Linked DNA regions of Homo sapiens: regions 1, 2, 3, 4 and 6 are each linked to region 5. Evidence: promoter capture Hi-C in 16 types of primary human blood cells and fetal thymus (Javierre and others, 2016). All regions are on one chromosome and are shown on one strand. Each heading gives the region's core, a stretch centred on a gene start or on the middle of the fragment in contact. The rest is flanking DNA. Distances are from core to core; before and after follow the strand shown. Region 1 overlaps AKAP13 (A-kinase anchoring protein 13). Region 2 overlaps AKAP13 (A-kinase anchoring protein 13). Region 3 overlaps AKAP13 (A-kinase anchoring protein 13). Region 4 has its middle 54 kb from the start of MIR7706. Region 5 holds the start of SEC11A (SEC11 homolog A, signal peptidase complex subunit). Region 6 overlaps AKAP13 (A-kinase anchoring protein 13).

Region 1 (4,316 bases), core at 709-3,208, 830 kb after region 5:
AGCAATAAAAAGCAACTGAATTGTCCTGGAAATGTGCAGTAGGAAATCCTGTCTGTTTTTGGGCTCAATTATTATATGTCCTGACTCTTTAAAGAGTTCTCTAGAGGAAGGTTGTTAGTCAAAACATTTGAAGAGCGCTCTTTTATTCTTGTATAAATAAAGAAATAAACACACTAGAGCAGCCAAAAGTTTTTATTGGAATGTTTATATAAAGAAGTTTCAAGAATAGTTTCTGTTGTTTAATACATTTTTATTAGTTTTGTGGTTATCATCATTATCTTTTCCACCACATTATCTGAACAAGTATAAACCCATTGGATCTATGTTCTTTAGCAATTGAGGGACCTGTGCAAATTGAGTCAGTATTAGCAAATTCTCAGATATTTTGCTCATGCCAGATTTAATTTAGTTGTGCTTTATGTTTTACCATTTTTAACTGTGTATATAGTCTGGAAGGACCAAAAAGAGACCTCAGAATGTAGTGCTACTTACGGTTATGTAAACAGCTTTTTCTTGATTCACTTGCCAGGCTTATACCTTTCCCCATCACGCTAGACAGACAGTTCTTTGCAGAAAGCTTTCTGATGGGTGCTACAGATACAGTGGTGGTAGGAGGGGCACTTATCTCAAATGAGCTTTGGATACCTGAGCTCTCCTAAGACAGTATTCCAGGGAGTGATACATTCTACTCCTTCACACTTCCCATCTGGCCAATGATTGGATTCATTCTACGGTTAGCCTCATGGCCTCAGGAAGAGAGGCCTTGTTTCAGAAGTTGAAACAGTTAACTCTGCATAACTATTGTGAAGTTCAAATGCATTTCCTCTAAATTTGATTTTTGCTGGGAAGCAGAGTTGGTTAAGGACTGCCATCCAAATGGGGAAATAAAGTGATTACAACAGCTTCATTATATCCTTGGAGGGGATGTCACAAGACTGTTATTGCAGCACAGCTTTAAGGAAACTAGAGTGTGTTTGTTCTTTGACTTTTTTTTGCTTACTTTAAAAGTACTACTTCTGTTACATGTGGGAAAGCCACTTACCTCCTTTTGAAGGGAGATTGGTAAGGGAAAACCAACCTGAGAAATCACCAATAGAGGACCCTGATAGGAGAGGATGAGCACCTTGCTGCAGATCTAGCTCTTAACTTGAATTCTGGGATGTTACTGTTGTGAAGCTTAGAAAAAGTTCTGAGTCATAATTAGCGATTAAAAAATGGAAAGGGGGCGATTGTCCCAAATCACTCAGTGTGAGAGTGATTCTAGTAGAATTTGGTAGAATTTCAGTTGTTAAAGAATCAAGAATGATCATTTTGTTATTGGTTTTCTTTTCTCCTTTCCTTCCCCTTTCTTTTCCTATATACATAACGTAAAAATGGTTAAAATAGTAAATTTTAGGGACAGCATTCAGTAGCATTCAGTACCATCACAACACTCACAGAGTTACGTAACCATCACCACTATTATTTCCAGAACTTTGTCATCACCCAAACTGAACTTCCTTTTCTCCAGCCCCTGATAACCTCTGTTCTCCTTTCTGTCTCTAAGAATTTGCCCATTCTAGGTACCTCATATAAGTGAAATCATGCAACATTTGTCTTTCTGTGTCTGTCTTTTACATAGCTAATGTCCTCAAGGTTCACCCATGTTGTAACGTGTCAGAAAAACAATACGTACTTCAAAATTGCTAAAAAAGAATGTATTTCTCACCACAAAAAAATAAGTAGCTGAGATGATGGATATGTTACTTAGGTTGATTTTATCTTTCTATGGTATATACATAGATTAAAACATCACACTGTACCCCATAAATAAATTTATATAATTGTTGTTACCAAACACACACACACACACACACACACACACACACACACACAGCCAAAAGTGTAAACAACCTAGATGTCCATCACAGATAAATGGACAATGTGGTATATTCATATAACGGAATACTACAGCCTTAAAAAGAAAAGATCATCTTTAACAGATGAAACTGAGATCCAGAGAGACAAAGTGGTTGGATGAAGATAACAAGGTGGTATGACCAGAAATAGAAGCCAAAAGCTGTCCAGAGCTCTTTCCTTCCACTCCTGGGATTCTTAAAAAGTGGCCCAAGAATAGACTTCATGGGGTCTGTATCTCTTGAAATTATAAAGGTTTATGCACATGTTTTTCTGAATAAAGCATTTGTTGGTGAGATTCACGAAGGGGTTTGTAGAAAGTTAAGAATCGCCACAATGTATGATGCTATCTTTCTTTTTTTTTTTTTTTTCTTTTCTTTGAGATGGAGTCTTGCTCTGTAGCCCAGGCTGGAGTGCAGTGGCACGATCTTGTCTCACTGCAGCCTCTGCCTCCCAGGCTCAAGCAATTCTTCTGCCTCAGCCTCCTGAGTAGCTGGGATTACAGGCATGCGCCACCATGTCCGGCTAATTTTTGTATTTTTAGTAGAGACGGGGTTTCACCATGTTGGTCAGGCTGGTCTCGAACTTCTGACCTCGTGATCCACCCACCTCGGCCTCCCAAAGTGCTGGGATTACAGGCGTGAGCCACCGCGCCCAGCCATGATGCTATCTTTCTAATAGTTTGGGTATCTTCTTCCCCACCCTGCTTTTTAAAAATGAAATTGTCCACATATAAGCCGGCCTCTTTTATTGCCTCTTTTCAGTTAGTATGAAATTGAAGTATGGCTATGTATATTTTACATTTATTGAATAACTAGTTGCATTCTACACTTTACTGAAAAGTCAAGCTTATTTAACCCCATTTATAGCCCTTCCCAAGTACATTTGTTGTTTTAATTCCTTGGTGCTTTACCTTGTTTTTTGCTTTTTAATTTTTAAGTGGGGTGTGGGGAGCCTTGTGCTGGTTAGGGCCCAAGTTCTTTTTGTGTTTCTTTGTTCAAGGCTTATTTTGATTGCCAGTCTATTTTGATAAAGCAAGTCTTACTTCTGCGAAAATTATGATTAGCCATTCTTGGACATATAAGGATTCTCTAAGACCTATCCCTTTAGAAAACACTTGAACTTTATTTTAAATCCTACCAGATAGTAATAACTACTCAGGACATTTTTTTTACAGTTTCCCTTTTTTGTAACCCATGATTGTTAACTTTCACTTTGTTCAGTGTTAGGGAAGGCAGAGCTTTTGTTGACTTGCTGTTTCACTTTAGCTTATATTTAGATCTTACATTATGAATATGAATGCATTTGTGATCTGAAAATTCATCTTAAATACATTGTATTTAAGTTTCACTCTAAGTAAATGAAAGAATTCATGTAGGGAGCATAACTCAGTGATTGACATATATGTTATCTCTTATTTCCCTTTCTTTAATTTTCTGTCTTGCCTGAGAAATCTTAGCCCCAGAAGAGTACCCAAAACATGTAGGCCTACTTTTCCTTTAGTTGGACAATCATCTCCTCTGATTTGAAGACCCCACCCATGGTCACCTAACTAGTTAGTAATGGAGAGAATAGGTAAAGACCCCAGTTTGCAGGCTCTTGGTGTCATGAATGCTAGGAAGTGACAATATCAGATGAGCGTGGCATTGTAGTTATCTAAGAAGAAAATATTAGAGCCAGATGTTATTGGATCTGGCTGATCTCTTACTCACACATCTCAAAGTAGAAATCTTGGGACTTGGATCACCCATGTTGGGGGTATGAGGGAGCTTGAGAGTAAGAGGAGGCTCCAGCTAGTGACTAGGTGTGCAAACTTGGAAGTCAAACCTAGGTTTGCATTTTGGCTCTGCCATTTGCAAACTTTCCTTGCTAAGCCTTGATTTCTTCATCTCATAAATAAAGGATATTGCTATTTACTTCCTGGATGATAACCCAGCCTTTAGTGTATGCAATATGAAAAATTAGGGCTTATTTGTCATACAGATTCTGGTTATTTTTGTGGAGCAAATAAAGGTGCATAAATATTTCTTCTTGGAGAAAGATGGTAGTATAGTATGGTAGAACTGCTTACGGATTAAAAGCTTAATAAAAATCTAAGCTTGCCTACTTAGTAGTTAGTGTGACTTGGAAAATGTCACCTATCCACTGAGTCTCATGTTTCCCCTCTCTTAATGATAATACCTGTTCTGCCTACATCACAAGGTTATTTTAACTAAAAAAAGATTGGTGCAAATACTTTGTTAAACTCTAAGATACTCTATTTGAACATTTCTTATATATTAATAATAATAATGACATCAGTAAAATTAGAGTTAACTGATCAATGAAACTCAAATTCCAGTTGATCGGTCTACCAGATATCTTGTTTTGTAATATTTCTTGTAGTTCTCTGTGAATTAAAGTTAGTAGAGAGATTGGAG
Region 2 (4,113 bases), core at 261-2,760, 900 kb after region 5:
CAAAAGCACAAGACTGCAGATTCTGTCTTCTGTTGGGGAGTGCTGAGCAGATCCAGAGGGGAAAGCAACACAGACTCTTTTTTCCACCCAGAGCATTTGTTTCCCACCCAGGGTATTTGTCCTCCAACAAGGAACAGAATATGTAAGGAATTGTCCTTTAATATGCAGAAAGAGCAGGAAATCTAGCTTTCCAGCCTGTGGCACAAAGCCAGAAGTTAGAAATAAAAAGGTTAGTCTTTATGTCTCAAACAGTAATCTAGGCTCTTTCAGAAAATTATATTATTTTGAAACAAGTTTCTCTCTCCTAAAAACTTCCTGAAGACAGACACCTTGTTACCTATTTATTTTGCTTGCCTCCACTAGAAGTCACAAAATATCTGTTACATTGTTATAAATTATCTGCATGTAAGTCACTGGACAGGGATAGGGTAGAAAAGCTTTTTTGTTGTTGTTGTTGTTTTTGTTTTTTGTTTTTTGAGGCGGAGTCTTGCTCTGTTGCCAGGCTCGAGTGCAGTGGCGCGATCTTGGCTCACTGCAACCTCCGCCTCCGAGGTTCAAACGATTCTCCTGCCTCAGCCTCCTGAATAGTTGGGACTACAGGCATGTGCCAACATGCCTGGCTAATTTTTGTATTTTTAGTAGAGATGGGGGTTTCGCCATGTTGGCCACGATCTGGATCTCTTGACCTCATGATCTGCTTGCCTTGGCCTCCCAAAGTGTTGGGATTACAGGCGTGAGCCACCGCGCCCAGCCGGTAGGAGGGTTTTAATGGTGATTAAACCATCTCTGATCCCTAGAGAGACAGATGCCTGGGAACCTTGGAAGCAGGAATCATTTGATTCTAATTAAAACAGAAGGGAGTGGCAGTGAGGAACAAACCATATTGAGGACAGAGGGGAGGCAGCTCTGTGTTCAAAAAAAGAAGAAGGGCGAGTTCTACATTCTAGCTTGGTGAAAGCTTTTACAGAAAAGATAATAAAGTATCAGTTTATCTATACATTCAAGCCTAAAGGCTCTTTCTGTCTGTGCCCTAGACCACATAGTTTGGAAGTATTTGTAAATCTCTGGTCAAGTTCCCATGCTTTTGATAAGCCTGAGCAAGAATTTTATTTACAACTTTTAAATCTCTGTCAAATCGTCTTGTTTCTACTGTTTTGTAGCCTCATTTGTAATGAAAAGCAACATCTGTTTCACTGCACATGTTGGTACCACTACAGAGCCAAGGCTCACTTGGGGCACGAGAAGGGGAGGGGTTGTCCGCCTTCATTCCTCGGATGAACCAGTGAGGAATAGGGAGATAAAACCTTATGGCTTTTATTTCAGAATAAAGCCTGTATGTAGCTGGGGTGTATTAATAGAAAGTTGAGGAAGACGTTTACAGTCTTCTTAGCAGGGTTTGCTGTATTTCCCTCCTTTAAGCTGGTCAGCAACTTGAATATCTGGCCTGAGGACACAGCAACTCATCTATACCCTTTTTCTATATCCGTTTTTTAGCTCCTGAAAAACCTTTTCACCAACTTTGTTTGCAATGTCAACAGAAATGTAGGTGTTAAATCTCTCCTCTCCCCTTCTGTTGTGGTATTTGAGCCACTGCTTTCACAGCCTAGCTAAGGACTACTCTGGACAACTCAAGGAAAATGTCAGCAGCTCCTAGAAAGAGAAATCCTTTTTTTTTTTTAATCCCTTTTTCTTTTGTTTCTTCACTCCTTTCTGCTTTTTGCTTCCCTCAGTTCCTCATCCTTTTCCCTCCCAAATCATTCATGATCCAAGTAAGAGAATGTCTCAGGTGAGAGAATGCATTCTGAAGTAAGTCTGTCCCTGAGAATGTTAGATAGAGTGGGGGGCTAGAAGGGTCTGGAATAGTAAGAAAACAGGCAAATGAAGTAGCAGACCCACAATTCAAGACCCAGTTAGTGTGCATAGAAACACTGAAGAAGTCCCAGCCAGGCAGCTATACTTAGTCGCAACAAATATTAACATACACAGAACTCCTTTGTTCCACTCCTTTTCTTTTTCATTTTCTTTAAATCAACTCCATCATCCCTTCTCCCTCCCCAAAAATAAAGCTTAACTCTTGATAATTTTTAAACTTTATCAGACACATTTATAGCCACGTCTCGATCCTAGAGACATAACTGCAATATTTGGCTGACATTTTTCTCGTGTTAAATCATTGCTTTGCATTTGGCAGGGAGGTATAGTGTATGCTTTGGGTAGTTTCAATTTTCTGTACCTCACGACAAGTCCATTGTACACGCTTGTGGTGTTTAGTATAACACCCCCCTTCCTTTATTAGCATACTACTCTGACATCAAAGAACTGAGCTGCATCTTGCAATGCCTGACAGAGCCTTTTTCATAGGGGTGGGAGGAGGAGGAGGAGGAAGAAGAAGCGGGTTGGAAAAGGAAGCCTTGTTTTTCTCTTCGTCTCGGTAGATGAATCATGTTCCCACAACTGCAATTGGGTTTTCAAACCTCCAAGGCTGCGGGTGCGGAGCTGAAAGGGCAAGCAGTGACGTTCTTGAGAGAGAAGGAAAAAGGGAGGAGGAGGCTGGCTAGGGAGGGAAGGAGGGAGGGAGGGAGTACAGCAGGAGTGGTCTTTTATTTTTTTCCCTTTTACTCTGCTGTCCTTAGAGATTTTCAACTTAAATCAAAACCAAGCCCTACTGCCTGGTGAGCAAGAGAGATTCCAAAGACTTTACTTTGAAAAGCATCTCCCAGCTTCTACTTTTTTTTAAGGAAAAGTAGATTTTCTTTGTCTTTGTTTTTGTTTTAAGCAAGAACAGAATCTAATGACTTTTTTCATGCCATCGCTTTGAAATAGCGTCGTCTTCCTTTCTTTCTCTCCCTCTTCCTGGCAAAGTATATACTGGATTTTTATTGCCTTCTTGGGTTTTTTTCCCTACGTGTATCGGCCGTTATGCTTAGCCAGTTTATTCTTTATTTTTTTACTGGAGTCATTGCCAGTGATGGAAACGGTGTTTGCTTCTCTTTCAGTCAAGATCTGCACAAAGTATAGCATTAGGTGGTATTTATTGTTTATATTATGAGTTCTACATTCATCTTTCCAGCACTCTGAAGTTATCAGCAAGTTCTCAGTCAGTTCAAGGCATTGGATTCTGCTTGATTTCTTTTTAATTCATTGTTTTTGACCCCTTTGAGAGTTTTAATAGAGAGGAGTCTGGAAGGCAGAGATCTCCACCACCTAACCGTGAGAAATTTGGAACTAAGGACTTGCACTGGTCCCCAAGTTAACAGTGGATATACTTCCTGCATTTTCTCTGTTCTTTCTTGCATTTGGGCAAAATGTATGAACGGCACAAGAGGCGCTACAGCCTCTGTGACATCTCCAAGGTGGACAGGACTGTGGACGTGGTATTGCTGAAGGTAAGGGGGGCTGCACCTCATGCATTCTGAAGCTCTGCAGGCTGTTTTAGCGCTTTGAACCCGGTAGCCATGTCCCTGGCCCTCCTGTATTGGGAGAAAGGCCGAGAAATCTGTGCACAGTGGAGGATGAGGGGTGAATGTAAGCCTCTTAAAGGAATATCTGAACAGGAAGCAATAGGTGCTTGGTAATCAGCATTGGACCACTTACTGTTGAAATGTAATTTTACTTTCATTAAAATGGATTCTTATGCTTGGGAGAACCTCATACTGTTGAAAATCACAGAGAGAGAAATTCACCTTCCAAGTTGCTCTGTTTGTCCTTCTGTCTCTGTCACCCCTCCGCCCCCAGACTCCACCCCCATCTGCCTGGTCTCTTTCTCTGTCAGTCTCTCTGCCTCTGTCTTTTAAGTATTTCTGTCTTTTGTCTGAGTCTTTTCTGTTTTTCTGCTACTGTCTCGTTCAATTCTTTAGGGGAAGGATAGGCAACATTTATTTCTTTTGGAAGGATTTCCAATAAACCTATCTATTAAGGTGGCAGAGCTGACCTTTTGGCTTGGTTTGACTGCTTTTCAGAGGTAGCTTCTGACTTTGTTGATAGCTGTATTTGTTTGTGTTCTCCGCATTAGTGATGTTTGGTGTCTAAGCAGGATGAGGGCGGAGACTCTGAATAGCTAATTGCTCACAGAAGGCATCCTTGAATCTAAAATTAGTAAGAACTCCTCCAGCC
Region 3 (3,905 bases), core at 780-3,279, 990 kb after region 5:
TGATTTCATCAGAAAAGTTGCCCTCTAGACAGTTTTCTGGCATTTATAGTTCATTGCTTATATGAGAGAATAAAATACATATAGTTGATTAAAGGAAGGAAGTTTATTACTTAGGGAAAAGGAAGGTAAAAAAAGACCCTAAGCAATAAAGGCAATTCTTTTTTAAGCAGAATACTTTCATTTTATTTCATTTTTGTTTACCAGTGTTGTTACGAAAACTGCTGCTGGGGCTACTTCAGCTGAGATGATTTGGCTCTTTTTTGTGGCTTTCTTCTTGTTCTGTACATCAGCACTGTGGTTATTACACCAGCTACCAAGAACATCTCACATGCCTTTTGCATATAAGCACTCTTAGTCCAGATAGGGCGATGTCTCAAATCCCCCAAAGATTTTATTTATTGGCCAGGTGCCGTGGCTCACGCCTGTGATCCCAGCACTTTGGAAGGCTGAGGCGGGTGGATCACCTGAGGTTAGGAGTTTGAGACCAGCCTGGCCAACATGGCGAAATACCATCTCCACTAAAAATACAAAAAATTAGTCAGGCGTAGTGGCATGGACCGGTAATCCCAGCTACTCAGGAGGCTGAGACAGCAGAATCACCTGAACCCAGGAGGCAGAGGTTGCAGTGAGCCAAGATCGTACCACTGCACTCCAGCTTGGGTGACAGAGCAAGACTCCATCTCAAAAAAAAAAAATATATATATATATATATACACACACATATATTTAATAATTTTTTTTTGAGAGACAGGGTCTCTGTTAAAGATTTTAAACAAGAAGTTTAAAGTTGCAGAAAGAATTTTGTAGCATGCATTTCTAAATTTGCTCATATTTAACTGTTTTTTGTTTTATTTTCATTTTCTTGGTTAGAGTTGAAATGATAGGAGAAAGTTGTGCATTTCTATCCTTAAAGGTAATTCCTCAACTTGTGTCCTGGAGAAGAATCAGGTCATTTTTCCCAGTTAGATTTTGCTGCTCACATCTGTAGGCAGAACAGTCAGAAGTCTTCAGCCTATTCCCAAGTGATGATCAATGAACTGAAGTACTGGAAGACCTTTTTTGTCAGAGCCTTGGCTGCATATGACTCAGCTCCCAAAGGTGGCTCGTTTCTGTGTAGGCAGTCCTTTGATATTCTGTCATTTCATTTCAGTTTGGCATGGCCACTCCTCTTATCATTGTATAAAGTTGATTTTCTTAAGTTAGCCTCGCTAATGGTTTGTTTTATTTTTCTTCCGAAAGATAAAAAACACATAGTATATAACCATTCGCCAAAGATCTGTGGTGGTTGGTGGCATGGGTTAAAAAAAAGATACAGCAATAGATAGATGATAGTTTCCAGTCATGTGGGTTTAACTTCATTTTCTTTGGTTTGATGCCTCCTTGTAGCAAAGAAAGAAGTTGAAGGCTGGACTGTTTGTTTTAGGTACAGAGGAATCCGATTAGGGATCAGCTCTGTTCCCATAAACCACTGTGCTGAGACCTTTTTGAAGAATTTTAAAAAATGAAAGCATATTGCCTACTGCTATTAGGAAATCTATCAAATAAATAAATAAAAGGCCAGATAATTATTTTCTGATCTTCATAACAACATGGTATGGTTTGTGGCAGAGAGCTTAAAAATGTATTAGATTTGTCTTCAATTCTTGTGTTCTTGGTAATTTTCTGTTTTCCCAAACAGAGAGTAAGATTTTAGTCTCATGACTTTGGCTGATGTCAGTGGGGCTGAAGTTTCTAAATCACCCACGCACAGCTCTAAAACTGTCACTGTGAATTGAGTCCAGGACAACTTGGAAACAAGTTGAGTGTTTTTCAAGTAGGTACTTCAGCATGTTAAGGAGATGTCCATGCAAACTATCACTAAGAGAAAACTCATGACCATAATATAGAGCGTGTTAAACTTCCAGCTGGGTTGTGGGTTTGGGGACATGTTTCAATTAATTAAAAGTGAATTTATGTGAAAAGTTCTTTACTAGAAGCACATTTTAAATGATTTTTTTCTGCTTCTATGTTCATCTCAGACACTCAAACACTGGCCTGAGAGTTTGAATATTGCTGAAACCTTTTTACGTGATAGTGCCACTCCCTTAAAAATCATCATTGCTTAAATCTCTGTAGGGTGTTGGAACTGGTTGGGAAGAAAGGAACAGAAAGAACAGAACTTGGAAACAAATTCTGCCCATAGTGTTCTTGGTCACTTTTGCAGATCAGAATTAGTAGCTGGTTCTCCAGCAAATCTGCCACCTCCTGTGTTGCCCTTAGGTGCCTAAAATATTATAGATTTTCAATAAAACAAAAGAAAAAAAATATACTTTTTTAACTGGATTATAAGACAATAAAATCTTATCTTTAAGTTATCACAAGATGCGATAAATGGATTATGCAAAAGGATATGGAAATGTTTATAAGCAAATCCAAGGAACTTTGAACGACATTAGAGTGTGATGATTTTTTAAAAATTAAAAATTTTTTTTAATTTTGAAAAATGTTAATACAAAGTATTATACATAGGTAATTTATCACATATGTGTCCATGATTCAGAATGAACACATAGTAACATTCTGTCAGACGGCTTCAGATTGTTTCACTTTTTAAGAAACCATTATGGTTAAGTTCAGATTCCCCTTTGTTTCCCTGCCCCATGCATCTTCCTTCCTCCCCAAGGACAAGGACTGTCATGAATTCAGTGCATTCGTAGTCTGTGTTTTATAATTTATTTTCATACATAAACAACATATAATTTGTTTTTGTTTTTAACCTACATAAATACTACCATACAGTACCTCTTTTTGTAATTTGCTTTATTCTCTTCAGCATTATATATTGAGGATTCAGCACGCTGAAAAACATAGATCTACTAATCATTGACTTTGCCTTTTCATAGTCTTTTTATACTTTTTCTGTAGAAGGGAAAGAGAAATGGACTTAAAGATGATGTATTTGAAAGACTTTAGCTGAGTGGGGATTTGTGAAGAGAAAGGGTTTGAGTGGGGTGGGCTTTCAAGTCTGTGCATGGGAAGGATATGATGGATCAACTAATGGGAGAGGAAGAAACCAGAAAGGAGCATGCCAGCTGCAAGTCCTGGGCATCTCTGTGGCAGAGGAGGGGAGGTGCACCATACACCCTGAGTAAGAATAGTGCTCGTGAGGATGGGCAGAAACATGTTTTGGCTTACTAGAAAATAAATAAAGCCGTTTGCCTCGACCACTTTGTTATGCTTCTTGCTGTGGGTCCAGCAGCCTGAAACTCACTTACCCATCTGATAGAATCACAGCAGAGGGAACCTGGGGGAAAATGTGATTCCTCCTTTTTAATTTTATAGATGAGGAAACGGAGGCCTGTCAAGAAGGGACTAGGGTCATACTAGTACATACATACATGCAGAGCCAGGACCTACGTCAAATTTAGTTTGACAGCTGTTTGTCCTTTTGTGTTACTAAATTGATGTTTGACATACTGTAATCAAGGCTGTGTCAGCGCATTCATCTAATTTTAGTTTAAATAGGCATAGTAGGGCCGAGAGAGGAGCATTTGAATAGGATGCATGAGCTAGGCACTATGCTGGAGAGTCTTAATTTGAAGATTCAGCAGTGGGTGAATGGTCCCTGCCCCAGAGAGGGGATAGAGAAAAACCTAAGAGAGTCTCAATACACTGTGCCAGTGGTATTAAGGAGGAGACCTGTGAACCAAGTGGGTGTTAAAGGAAGTGTTACAAAAGGCATGGAATAGGCCTTTGAGGTCTGGGATTCTAGCAGTCTCCTTTCTGGTTTCCTTCCCTCCCCATCATCACTCCAGTCCCCCACAAATCCATGTGTCTGGGCTAAAAGAGATGTTGGCCCAAAAGAGATGTTGGCCCTTAACTGGTGAGTTGATGTAGACAGGACCTGTGATGCTTCCTGAATCAGT
Region 4 (4,075 bases), core at 630-3,129, 610 kb after region 5:
TATTAAAAATACAAAAGTTAGCTGGGCATGGTGGCATACACCTGTATTCCCAGCTACTCTGGAGGCTGAGGCAGGAGAATCGCTTGAACCCAGGAGGTGGAGGTTGGAGTGAGCCAAGATCACACCACTGCACTCCAGCTTGGGCAACAGAACGAGACTCCATCTCAAAAAAAAAAAAAAAAATTAGATTATGTGCAAGAAATAAGGCCAGGGTTACTCAGATCCTCTGCCTCTCATGCACACACTACCTACTAAACCACACTGCTTCACACAAATTAGCAGTCTTCATTTACATTTTCACAGACCAATTTTGTTATTGTTGTTGTTAGAGACAACATCTTGCTCTGTCACCCAGGCTGGAGTGCAGCAGTGTGATCATAGCTCACTGCAGCCTAAAACTCCTGGGCTCAAGCCGTCCTCCTGCCTCAGCCTCCCGACTAGCTGGGACTACAGGTCCCTCCCGACTAGCTGGGACCACGCCTGGCTCAGGCCAATTTTAAAGAGGAGAAAACTTACAGATCTGGAACAAAAGCTGAGATCTCTTCTCACCATTTGTGCATTTCCTCTTAGAAAAAAAAAAATATATATATGGGCCGGGCGCGGTGGCTCACGCCTGTAATCTCAGCACTTTGGGAGGCCAAGGCGGGCGGGTCACCAGGTCAGGAGATCGAGACCATCCTGGCTAACATGGTGAAACCCCATCTCTACTAAAAATACAAAAAGAAATTAGCCGGGCGTGGTGGAGGGCACCTGTAGTCCCAGCTACCTGAGAGGCTGAGGCAGGAGAATGGCGTGAACCCGGGAGGCGGAGCTTGCAGTGAGCTGAGATCGCGCCACTGCACTCCAGCCTGGGCGACAGACCGAGACTCCGTCTCAAAAAAAAAAAAAAAGATATGAGTGGTTCATTTCAAAAGTCTAGAGCTCTTGCCCTTGAATTACAGCATTGAAGTCACCTTATGATGTGGTGGCTAAGGTGCTAGGAGGCTCAGTGAGAACTTACCCTAGAGACAATGGACGTGGCTTCATGGCCAAACAGGTGCCCAAACTCTGTGTTTCCATTTTCTTCCATGCCTCAGTCAGCCCAGGTTTGCCCTAATGTCTTATTCTTCGTTTTCAGCTGAGCGTAGTCAGTAGTGAAAACAAGTCACAGCTTTTGAGTTTTACTTAGTTACAAAGACTATTTACTAGTATTGAGGAAAGATACTCATTTTGTGGAGCTTCCAAATCCCTGCTCCTTGAGTTTGACTATCTGGATTACATTAAAGATATAATGGATGCATAGAGACATCAAATGGACAGAGCATGTCACAAAAGTTATGTATAAATTATATTTTTGGAACTTGGAATATATTTCACCATAGGGAAATTGTATTGTGCTTTTTAAAAGGCATGACTAAATGATGAAATAAATGGATAATAAAGTTCCCAAGCCAGCACACAAAAGCCTGTTAAGTGTGTTTTTAACCCATAATATACCTAAAGTATAAAGCCAAGTTAGTATTTCAGATACATTTGGTTCTGGGCACCAAATATGGTTTTCATAGGAAGACACATTTTTCCAAGTGGAAACACTTCTAGTGCCTAAACAACATAAGGGCAAGAGAACTAACATTTAGCTTCTGCAAAGCATTAAGGACACTGAGTCACAAAATGGTTAATAACATTTTAGGGTGTATTAATGCTATGCTCAAAGACATGTAGGCAGAGCCAGAATTTAAGCCAAGGTTTATCTCAGCCTGTGCTGTTTCTACTAAGCTTAGTTATCTCTGTAGGTTTATATTCCAAATATTCTGAACTGAGGACAACTTGTCTCCCCAACCCCTACTCCACTTCCTTTGGTACAGTAAGAGGTGAGATGAAGGATGGTACTCCAGAACAGCCAATCTCAAACCTGACCAGGCATCAGAATCACCTGGCAGGCTTGTTAACCAAGATTGCTGGGCCCCATTCCTTGTGTTTCTAATTCAGTAGGTCTGAGTGGGGCCTGAAAATTTGCATTTCTGACAAGCTTCCAAGTGATTCTAATGCTGCTTGTCCAGGGACCATGCTCTCAGAATTCATTAGGGCTTCCCTAATAAGTCTTCTCAACAAATAGCCAATCCTTGAAACGATCAATGATTTTCATAGCTGGTAACAAGGAATGATGAAATTCACTGAATCTTCAAGCACTATAATTATGATTAGTACCTGAAGGGAGCGAGCAGGGCATGGAGAGACAATATAGAAAGGAAACAAATTGTTCTCAGCAAGATTGCACTCCATGCATAGATTTCATTTTCTGCAAAGAAGAAAAGAAGCAAACAATACAGAAATCAGCAGGGAACATTGGGCTTTGAAGATAAAAGCAATAATCAGGCATTGTGGCAACAGCATGATAACTATAAAACAATTGAGTTTACCCCCTTTTTTTCCCAATGCCCAGAGGGAAGCTTAATCAACCAACACATATTTATTGAGTTCTTACAGTGTGGTCAAACAGGAGTGGGTAAAAGTATGGGAAATAGCACTTGACCTCAACAAGTTACAGTGATGCCTCATTGATCAGTTTCTTGGGGGAAGGAAGCATGCCACAAAGTGAAATTCCCAAATAAGTAAAGCTAACTCCTTAAAGTACTCAAATGTTATTTGAAGTATATTTTTTATTTTAAAAAAGTCTTCTGGCCGGGTGCAGTGGCTCACGCCTGTAATCCCAGCACTTTGGGAGGCCGAGACGGGCAGATCACCTGAGGTCAGGAGTTTGGGACCAGCCTGACCCACATGGTGAAACCCCATCTCTACTAAAAATACAAAAATTAGCTGGGTGTGGTGGCACATGCCTGTAATCCCAGCTACTCGGGAGGCTGAGACAAGAGAATCTCTTAAACCTGGGAGGCGGAGGTTGCAGTGAGCCAAGAATGCGCCATTGCACTCCAGCCTGGGCAAGAAAAGTGAATCTCTATCTAAAAAAAAAAAAAAAAAAAAAAGTCTTTCTGAAATCCATACCATCCTACCATTTTAAACAGAACACAAAAACATGGTTTAAGTTTTTCTTGATGATTCTAGGCCAGCACTACAGATATCTCCCTTTAGAATATTAAGTAATGACCATAGGCTATTGAGGAAGTATGTTGCTGTTTACCTACATTTAAAGAGCTTAAGTCTGGACTTAGTATTTGAATTTTCTCCATCGATTGCCATCTTATCTCTGCCTTTATTGGTCCACCTTCTAATAGCTCCACTTCACTTCCTATTTGCTGTTTTTTCTCTGCTATGGATTAAAAGCATCTGATAAGAACCAAGCCTATGAGCGAGGGCCTGAGTATTTTACCTACAAATCGATTGAGTTTTAGGAGCTGGCCTTTGTCATTTCATTCCTGACAAGTTCTCATGTGATGCTGATGCTGATCAAGGAGCCACACTGTGAGAACTTATTAGAGCTTCCCTAATAAGTCATCTCTACAAATGCAAATATTTCTTCCCTTAGTGCAGGAAGCCAGTTTGAAGGCTTCTAAATATACCTTCGCTTTGAGAGGATGTTTGACCTAAAGGAAAGGATGCTTCCTTTCTCCTGAACAAACCCCTTTAGGGCCCTATTTTCATCTTTGGAAATTTTCTAAGTATTCAGTACAGTATCATATTCCCTGCCCCCAGATTTATGTCACCTACTTATTGGATGGATAAATAAATAAGGGTTGTATAAATGCACATAAATGATTGAGCACTCCCCATAAGCTGGATACTAAGTAGATGTTTTCATCTGTCATCTCCTCTAATCCTCACACACACCTTATGAGCTGGGAATGAATAGCTCATAGTCCAAGCTCAGGAGGGGAGAGTCAATGACCCACTCATTCAAGGTCATAGTAAGTGGCATAGCTGAGATTCCAGCTCAGATCTTCAGACCCCGAGGCCAACGTGCTTTCCATTAGACCACAGTTACCGCCTTATTAAGAGCAAACCAAATGTTGGGGTGCAAGGAAAGATAGCAATTCAGTTTTTAAAAAGACAAATCCACAGCAAGCATAATGGCACCTCCACCCTACACCCAAACCCATGGTAGACGATGTTCTTTCCTGCTGCATATGAACAATCTCAG
Region 5 (4,131 bases), core at 1,626-4,125:
TCTGTGGATCTGATAAGAAAAAAAAAACAAAAACTCAAAGCAATCAGACATTTAACATATATGTAATATGTAATTAGGTATAAGCAGAGAAGTTATGCAAATAATAGCAACTTTTAGAGGAATAAAACAAAATTCTAGTTTCCCTCTTTCGTCTGATTCTCAGTATCTACATGTATTGTCAATTCTTCCTCCTAGATATTATGTACAGATAAAGATCTCATTTCATAACTCTCCCTCACCCCATGTTATCCAATCCCTCCTATCCATTCCTAACAACCTCTGGGAGGCCAGGGAGGATAATTTTACCATTTAAACTTCCACTAACCCTGAATGTCCTAGATGCAATGAATTCTGAACCACAATCACTCCATATTAGAGAAACACAGGGCAGAGTAGCCTATTCATTGTATCTTCATGTTTCTGTTCTTTCTTCCTGTCCATTTTATTAGAGCAGGAAGAGTACCTTATATATCTCTATGCTTTAGAGCCTATCTAGCAGGTTTGCAAGTGCTGAGTGAATTCCTTCCCTTTTGATTATTGGAATGCTAACCAACCCAGGTTAAAGATGAAGCTATTAAGGTCTTTCAAGATCCAACTTAAATGCTAGTTTCTCCTTGAAGCTGTTCGTAATGCCCTGACTGGAACCTCTCAAAATTTTCCTACCACTGCTAGAACAGGTCATATCCTTCTTTATCCAAGTGTTCAGGCTTTAAAGTAAGACCTGAGATCAAATCCACATCCTGCCATATACCTTCTTTTTTTTTTTTTTTTTTTTTTGAGACGGAGTCTCACTCTGTCACCAGGCTGGAGTGCGGTGGCACGATCTCAGCTCACTGCAATCTCCACCTCCCAGGCGATTCCCCTGCCTCAGCCTCCTGAGTAGCTGGAACTACAGGCGTGCGCCAACAGGCCCAGCTAGTATCTGTATTTTTAGTAGAGAGGGGGTTTCACCATGTTGGCCAGGATGGTCTCAATCTCTTGACATTGTGATCCGCCTGCCTCAGCCTCCCAAAGTGCTGGGATTACAGGCGTGAGCCACCGCACCCAGTCTACCTTCTGTCTTAAGCAAATCACTAAAGCTCTCTAACAATGACATCGACCACAGTACAGCCAATACTCACCATGTGCCAGACACTCTTCTGAGGGCTTTATATGAATTAACTCATTTAATCTTCATAGCGACCCTACGTTTGCACAACATAGTGAATGCAACTAATGTCAGTGAAGTATACACGTAAAAACGGTTGAAATGGAATATTTTATGTTGCATATCTTTTTACAACAATAAAAGTAAACATAGGCACAGACAGGTTAAGTAATCTGCTCAAAGTCACACAGCCAGTAAGTAGCAGAGCTACTTCAAACCTCTGAAATCTAGCTTTAGAGTCCATATTCTTAACTTCTATACTGTATTGCTTCTCACAAAGTCTCATTTTCTTCATGTTTAATAAGAACAACGTTACCTACCTTACAGGTGTATAAAGTGCTTCACACATGGCAAGAGCTCAAAAAAGTTATTGTTTTGCCTTAGTCCTTTTCTACACATTTAGGCTCCTTGAAGGCCGAGTCTTTCTTAACTATCTTTGCATTTCTCTCATTGTACCTAGCATAGAGTACAATAAATATCAGACTCAAAATAAATACTTTCCTCAGAGAAATATCTGTGGCATCTAGAAATCCAAATATGGATTAAAAAAAGACAACACTATACAAGTAAAAATTTGAAGTGTTGTCATAAAGACATAAAGTAACGTTTGCGCAATTTTTATAGAATGCTCAATTCTGACTGACAGAATTGACACTGAGCTAGCTAAGGCCTGAAGGGGAGTAAGGAAAGGTTGTGTATCTACTTCCCTAAGTGGCAGTTATAAGTACAAAAAATGCAAGTCCAAGGAAAAAAAATCCTTAATGGTGACATCAGGATAATCATAACAGTAAAATACTGTTTAAAACAAAAAAAAAGTCCGATGCAGCAAAACTAGGCTCTACAGACACACTAGGCGCAAAAGATAAAACAGAACAACCTTTTCTAAGGACTAAATAATTACAACAATATTCTCAGTACTATTTGGCATACGATCTAGAAGATCAAAGTAAAGTGTAAGGACAAAATCAGGAGACCTACATTTCCAGATCCCCGTGGCACTGATATTGGACTGTAAAACCATAGATTCCGAGGGCTGCCGCCTTAGTGCTAAGCGGACGCAAGGGCAAGTAGTGTAACTGTTCCAACTCGGAGCCCAGAGTGGTCCAAGTCAAAGTCGGTGCAGCCCGCTACGGTTCAGCTCTACTAAAGGGTTGCAAGGAGCTGAAAGCAGCAAAACGGTTTTTGTGGGGCCTCCAATCGCCTTCCTGAGCGCCCCAGAAACCGGCTAAACCTCGTCTCTCCCGAAACCACCTGGAGTCGCTCCGACTGGAGAAATCAAGAGTCCGCCGCCTTAAAATGACTAAAACAATAAGCAACCCCAACTCCCACTTCAAGCGCGTACGGTTTCCATTTGCTCCCCTGCCTCAGTGGGAGGAATGGAACGTGAAGACACCGCTTCCCGCCCCGCCCCCGGTAGGCCCTGAATCAGTTCGGGGTTAAAAATAATGAGGCGGACAAGGCGGCCTCTGGCCACAGTCTCCAAAGAAAGCGAATGACCCGGGTATCAGACCAGCTCAGACCCTCACACCAGAACCCTGGGGTCCGCCGGGCCCCGCAGCAGCAGCCTCGAAGGGACAAGAAGAGCCAGGAGAAAAAGAGGACGGACAAGCTCACCTGCCGCTTGTTCATCCGCCGCACATCGTCCAAAAAGTCTAGAGACAGCATGGCGGGGACGGCGAGCAGGACACCGGCAGGGGAAAGGGCGCGATGACCAGCGGGCGGAACTACTGGAGCTCGGGTCGGGCTCACACTGGACAGGACCCCGCAGTGCTTGCACTTCCGCTTCCGGGGCGGGAGCTGGCACGGTCGGGCACGGTCCCCGCCCCCCGCGCCCCTTCGCTGCGGAGAGCTGACAGAGAGACTCACGACCTTGCTAGTCCAGTCTCAGGGCTTGGCCTCGCCGTGGGAGGGTTCTCACGCTCTGGCTCTCGCCTGCCAAAAACCGACTGGACGCCACTTCCCGCGCTCGGCCCCGCGGCCCTTCACCGAGGCGGCGACCCAGGCTTAGTTGGGGAGGCTGCTCTGCCACCTTCGGAAGGCGGGCCTCTGTGCCCGCCCGGCCAATCGCGAGCAACCTCTCCGGTGTGGGCGGGTAGAAGCGGTTCCGCGTCCCGGCTTGGGTATGGGTGTGGCAGTGGATGTGTCGTCTGACCGTAGGTTCTCTGGTCGAGCAAGTCTCCTGCGCTATGGGAAGCTGAGGAGGTGCTTTCTTTCTTTCTGTCTCTGTCTCTCTTTCTTTACGTCTCTGTCTCTGTTGAGGTGCTTGCTTGCTTGCTTGCTTACTTTCTGTCTGTCTGTCTCTTTCTCTTTTTCTTTCTCTTTCTCTCTTTCCTTTCTTTCTCACTGTGTCGCCCAGGCTGGAGTGCAGTGGCGCAATCTCAGCTCACTGCAACCTCCGCCTCGCGGGTTCAGGCGATTCTCCTGCCTCAGGCTCCCAAGTAGCTGGGACTACAGGCGCGCGCCACCAAACCTGGCTAATTTTTGTATTTTTAGTAGAGACAGGGTTTCACTATGTTGGCCAGGCTGGTCTCGAACTCTTGAGCTCAGGTGATCCGCCCGCCTTGGCGTCCCAAAGTGCTGGGATTACAGTCGTGAGCCACCGCGCCCGGCCATCGAGGTGCTTTCAATAAGTGCTTTTCGCGTAAGGTTGGACCGTGTGAGAGACCTTCCGAGCACTGCCTGAGCCTGCCAGGAGTTTACAGTCCAATTGGAGAGAAAACAGCCCGGGAGAATTAGAAAACATCCAAATGGTGCAACAGCGTGATGAGACCACCAGTGGTGTGGGTCGTTAGGAAGTGGCTTCCTTTCTGACCTTGACTTTGCTGACAGGATTTGACATGGTCTCCTTGAATTCTACCTCCTGGTTTTCTTAACTTGGACACCTTGAAGTGACTATCTTTTCGCTACCTTTTGCTTTGACTGGCCAAAGCTCCTAATACGCACTTCAGTCAACAAAGACTAAAGCTGGATTACTTGGTATCATT
Region 6 (3,930 bases), core at 1,348-3,847, 970 kb after region 5:
TATGTGGTCAGTCATAAGATTCCTTGGTTTGCAACTCCTATTAACAAGTACCCTGTCATTCTGCTACATATATGGGTTTCCTTTCAAGCACCCATTTGTTACAAAGGAGTTTGTAGATTGAATGCTATTGTAGATGAATAGATTCCATATAAAATAATTACTGAATAATTGACAGGCTCTTTTTAACATGAGGTCACTGAAAATCCATAATTAAAACATTAAAAATGGGCCAGGCGGTAGCTCACGCCTGTAATCCAAGCACTTTGGGAGGCTGAGGTGGGAGGATTGTGTGAAGCCAGGAGTTCAAAATCAGCCTGGGCAACATAGCAAGACCCCATCTCTACAAAAAAATTTGAAAAATAGCCAGGCGTGGTGGCATGTGCCTTTAGTCCCAGCTTACTCTAGAGGCTGAGGCAGGAAGATTGCGTGAGCTCAGGAGTTCAAGGCTGCAGTGAGCTATCATCACACCACTCAGAGCAAGACTGTCTCCAAAACAGACAAGTGAACAAGAAAACATTAGTGACGGATCTAAGGAAACTTAGCCAAGTTTTGATAACAGAACCTGGGCGTTGTGGCATACTCTATAAAAAGCCATTCAGCAGCCTTCATCTACCTTTTATTCTGCTTCACTTTTATTTAACTTCTGTAGCCCTTTAAAAAAAATCAATCTTCTTGTTTTTATTTAGTATAACAGAAGAGAACTATAATTTCCTGCCACATAGCCCCTCCAAGAAAGATTCTGAATGGAAGAGTGGAACAAAAGTCAGTCGTACATTCAGCTACATCAAGAATAAAATGTCTAGCAGCAAGAAGAGCAAAGTGAGTATCACTGTGGGCATTGCTTGTGATCACCTCAGTAGGATCCTGTCACAGCCTGCATTCACACCAAAACTGGTTAAATCATGGGGACATAAATGGAAATAAATTCAGGATTACTCTCCGAAATCGCCTAATATTTAAAGGAAAATAATAAGAAGAAAAATAGCAAGAAGTGGAACTACCAGTTACTGAGTTTTCACTATATGCTAAGTGCTTTCCATATATTATTTAACCCTTTCAACAACCCTGTCAGGTAGGTGTTATCTCTCTTTTCTAAAAGTGATGTACCTTACCGAGGATACTCCTCTAATGTGAAGAAGTAGTTCAAACCAGATCTCTTTGGTTTCAAATCCCATACTCTTAAACCACAGTGCTTAAATCTGTAATATCAGTTTAAATGCAACAGAAGGATTTTATGCAAAGATCAAAGGATTGAAAATATTTATATTTGGCTTTAGAGGGAAGGATTATCCCACAGAAGATTACAAGAACTTTTAAGACTAATATGATTTCTTAGATCTATTTCTAATTAGGAGCATTTGGAATATATTCTCTTAGTGATTAAGAGATTAAATAAATGTTTAAACCGTGTGTGTGTGTGTGTGTGTGTGTGTGTCTGTGTGTGTGTGTGTGTAAGGCTCCACTGTATCACCCAGGCTGGAGCACAGTGGCGTGACCATAGCTCACTGCAGTCTTGAACTGCCAGGCTTAAGCAGTTTCCTGCCTCGCACCGTAGCCTCCCGAGTAGCCAGGGCTACAGTCATGTTGTGCCATCGTGCTGAGCTATGTTTAAATTTGTTTGTAAAGATGAAGTCTTGCTGTTGTGTCTAGGCCGGTCTAATGCCTTACCTCAAACACTCTTCTCGCTGCAGGCTTCCGAAGCCCTGGGTGTGATCCACCGTGCCCAGCCTAAAGTAACATTTTTTATCTAATTATTTTTCACATGCTCATTATGGAAATCTTCAAAATCTAAAAGTAAAAGAATGAAAATCTCCTGGAATAACCCCGCTTAGAGATAACTACACTTAATGTTTTGGTTTATATATTTCTAATCTTTTTTAAAAATGTATTTTCAAAAGAAAGGGAGAAAAGAAGTTCACTTTCTTATACTGATTCCCAGTGCTAAACCAAAACTGATTCCATTTCAAGTCCGTGGGGAAAAACTTTTCGCCTCTCACACCCTGTTCATCTACCCACAACACCCTCTAACAAAATAAAGACATAAGTAAATAAAAATTTGAAATCAGTTAAGGAACTCTTGCAAGGAATCACTGTGTGTGTGTGTGTGTGTGTATGTGTGTGTGTGCACGTGCATGCATGTGTGTGTGTGTGTGGTATATACATGTACATACAGATATATACACACGTAGATACATGCATATTTAGAAGTAAGGGAATAAACAAACATTGAATTCAAGAATATTGTCATAAAAGGGCATTGCCTCCTCCCTCACAAAACAAGGTGCACTAAGCTTCTCAAGCCCTCACTTCAGTGGGCTGATGGAAATATAGCCAAAGTATTTTACCATGTTTTGTAAGATCTCTTGGTTTAGCAAATACATTCAAAGAAATTTTTCCACCAAACGTGCCACAAGAATTGTGTTTTCATTTCTCCTGTGCAAGTACAGAATGGAGAGAAAGTAGGCAATCAGGGAGAGATGCAAAGAGTCTAGCAAATTATTTCTAGCATAATCACACATTTAACTTCAGACTCAGCCTTGTTTTATAATTCCAAAAAAAAAAAAAATGAAGGTCAAAGAATACTGCTTTACCAGTATTCTACGTATTTACATATTGGCAGCCAGGCTTAAAATAGAGCCTTACCTTTTTTACTTACCACTGCCGGCTTGGATACTAGTTGGTATCAACAAAAGAAAATCCCCTTGGACAGAGCAATATAAATTAGCCAAGTATTATTAAATGCTTTGTATAGTCTTAGCATTCCACTAGGTGTTAACAGGCACCTAAGAGAACTAAAGCTCATAGTCCTGACCTTGAAAAACTTTATGATCTAGTTTGGATGAATTCAAAATGTTTTCATTGTTTTTTATTTTGCTTTAAAACTACTGAATCTTGTCTTCAAACAAGCTTTTCGTGGAAGACCAATAAATAAGTGGAGATTCCCCCTTTCTAGCCATCTCCCCAATGTCATGGAGTTTTAGGACAGAGCAGTGAATGTACCACTCATCTCATGGATAAGGTAAAACATACACATGATAGGAAAAAAAACAACGTAAGATGGAATTTAGAAACTGGACCCTGACCTTTAAAAAAGTCTCAGCCCTCAGCCTAGCCTCCTTATTTTACAAACTGAGGCACAGAGATGTATGCTTCATGTCACACAACCTCACACAACCTCACACAACCTCCTGTTATCTGACTTCCAGGAAGTAGTACTCATCATTTTGTGTTTAAACAAAATGTTACTATACAGCGTAATTTTTTTCTTTTAACTTTTTTAATCTGAAAGGACTGGAGTTTGCTAGGAGGAGATGAGCAGAAAGGACAGGAGAAAACATATTTTGTGTTAGACCGAAATCTGTGATCACTGGTAGAAACTTTTAGTATCAGTTGACCTCTTGTCTCTGATCATCTCCTTTGTCAAAATGACAACACTTTTTTGCAATTGAGATTGGTTCCTCTTTCAGACTTGGCTTCAAGATTTGATCTCTTGGGGTCGTGCTGTCTTTAGCAGTGGAAACTCAAAAAATTACAAATTTGTAACCCTGAATTGTAGTCCATTTCCCATTACCAAGTGTTTAGAGTGCCCTAGTGGCAACTGTAAGTCACCTTTTATAGTGAGGTGTTACTAGCTCACTTTTAAATAAAATTGGAACAGCTTGGCTTTTGTCAATGTAGCAAAAGATGATTTTTTAAAAGGTGGGGGTGGGGCACAGTGGTACACACCTGTAATCTCAGTACTTTGAGGCTGAGATGAGAAGATCACTTGAGACCAGGAGTTCAAGGTCAGCCTGGGCAGTATAGTGAGACCTCATCTCTACAAAAAAATTGTAAAATTAGCTGGGCGTAGTGGCACACACCTGTAGTCCTAGCTACTCAGGAGGCTGAGGCAAGAGGATCACTTGAGCCGAGGAGTTCAAGGCTGCAGTA

The links. The method cuts DNA at HindIII sites, captures the fragments that hold promoters and counts their contacts. A CHiCAGO score of 5 or more calls a contact.
Region 1: a contact is called between a fragment that was not itself captured here and the fragment with the promoter of SEC11A in region 5, in 1 of 17 cell types (monocytes). The highest score is 7.4, in monocytes.
Region 2: a fragment that was not itself captured here is called in contact with the fragment with the promoter of SEC11A in region 5 in 1 of 17 cell types (monocytes); the score reaches 6.9 in monocytes.
Region 3: a contact is called between a fragment that was not itself captured here and the fragment with the promoter of SEC11A in region 5, in 1 of 17 cell types (total B cells). The highest score is 6.1, in total B cells.
Region 4: a contact is called between a fragment that was not itself captured here and the fragment with the promoter of SEC11A in region 5, in 1 of 17 cell types (total B cells). The highest score is 5.9, in total B cells.
Region 6: a contact is called between a fragment that was not itself captured here and the fragment with the promoter of SEC11A in region 5, in 1 of 17 cell types (non-activated CD4 T cells). The highest score is 5.9, in non-activated CD4 T cells.

What each region holds. Positions count from the first base shown.
Region 1 is chr15:85,544,486-85,548,801 of GRCh38, forward strand. All of the region lies in intron 5 of AKAP13 (A-kinase anchoring protein 13), which reads left to right. Among named protein-coding and RNA genes, the nearest start is that of AKAP13, 170 kb to the left of the region's middle. The HindIII fragment of the contact is 1,568 bases long and covers 1,175-2,742 here.
Region 2 is chr15:85,616,787-85,620,899 of GRCh38, forward strand. The region is part of intron 8 of AKAP13 (A-kinase anchoring protein 13); the gene reads left to right. Among named protein-coding and RNA genes, the nearest start is that of LINC02883, 140 kb to the right of the region's middle. RefSeq lists an enhancer at 1,175-1,344. The HindIII fragment of the contact is 1,108 bases long and covers 957-2,064 here.
Region 3 is chr15:85,703,160-85,707,064 of GRCh38, forward strand. The region is part of intron 17 of AKAP13 (A-kinase anchoring protein 13); the gene reads left to right. Among named protein-coding and RNA genes, the nearest start is that of LINC02883, 54 kb to the right of the region's middle. RefSeq lists a silencer at 1,693-1,822. The HindIII fragment of the contact is 4,594 bases long and covers 1-3,905 here.
Region 4 is chr15:85,324,783-85,328,857 of GRCh38, forward strand. No RefSeq gene overlaps it. Among named protein-coding and RNA genes, the nearest start is that of MIR7706, 54 kb to the right of the region's middle. The HindIII fragment of the contact is 253 bases long and covers 1,754-2,006 here.
Region 5 is chr15:84,713,264-84,717,394 of GRCh38, forward strand. It overlaps SEC11A (SEC11 homolog A, signal peptidase complex subunit), which reads right to left and starts at 2,876. Exons shown (of 6, transcript NM_014300.4): 1 at 2,762-2,876. The coding sequence starts at 2,812. RefSeq lists enhancers at 2,529-3,094, 2,550-2,619, 3,095-3,660, 3,290-3,409, 3,430-3,539 and 1 more. The HindIII fragment of the contact is 22,021 bases long and covers 1-4,131 here.
Region 6 is chr15:85,684,055-85,687,984 of GRCh38, forward strand. AKAP13 (A-kinase anchoring protein 13) reads left to right here. Exons shown (of 37, transcript NM_007200.5): 16 at 687-819. Among named protein-coding and RNA genes, the nearest start is that of LINC02883, 73 kb to the right of the region's middle. RefSeq lists an enhancer at 3,543-3,852. The HindIII fragment of the contact is 616 bases long and covers 2,290-2,905 here.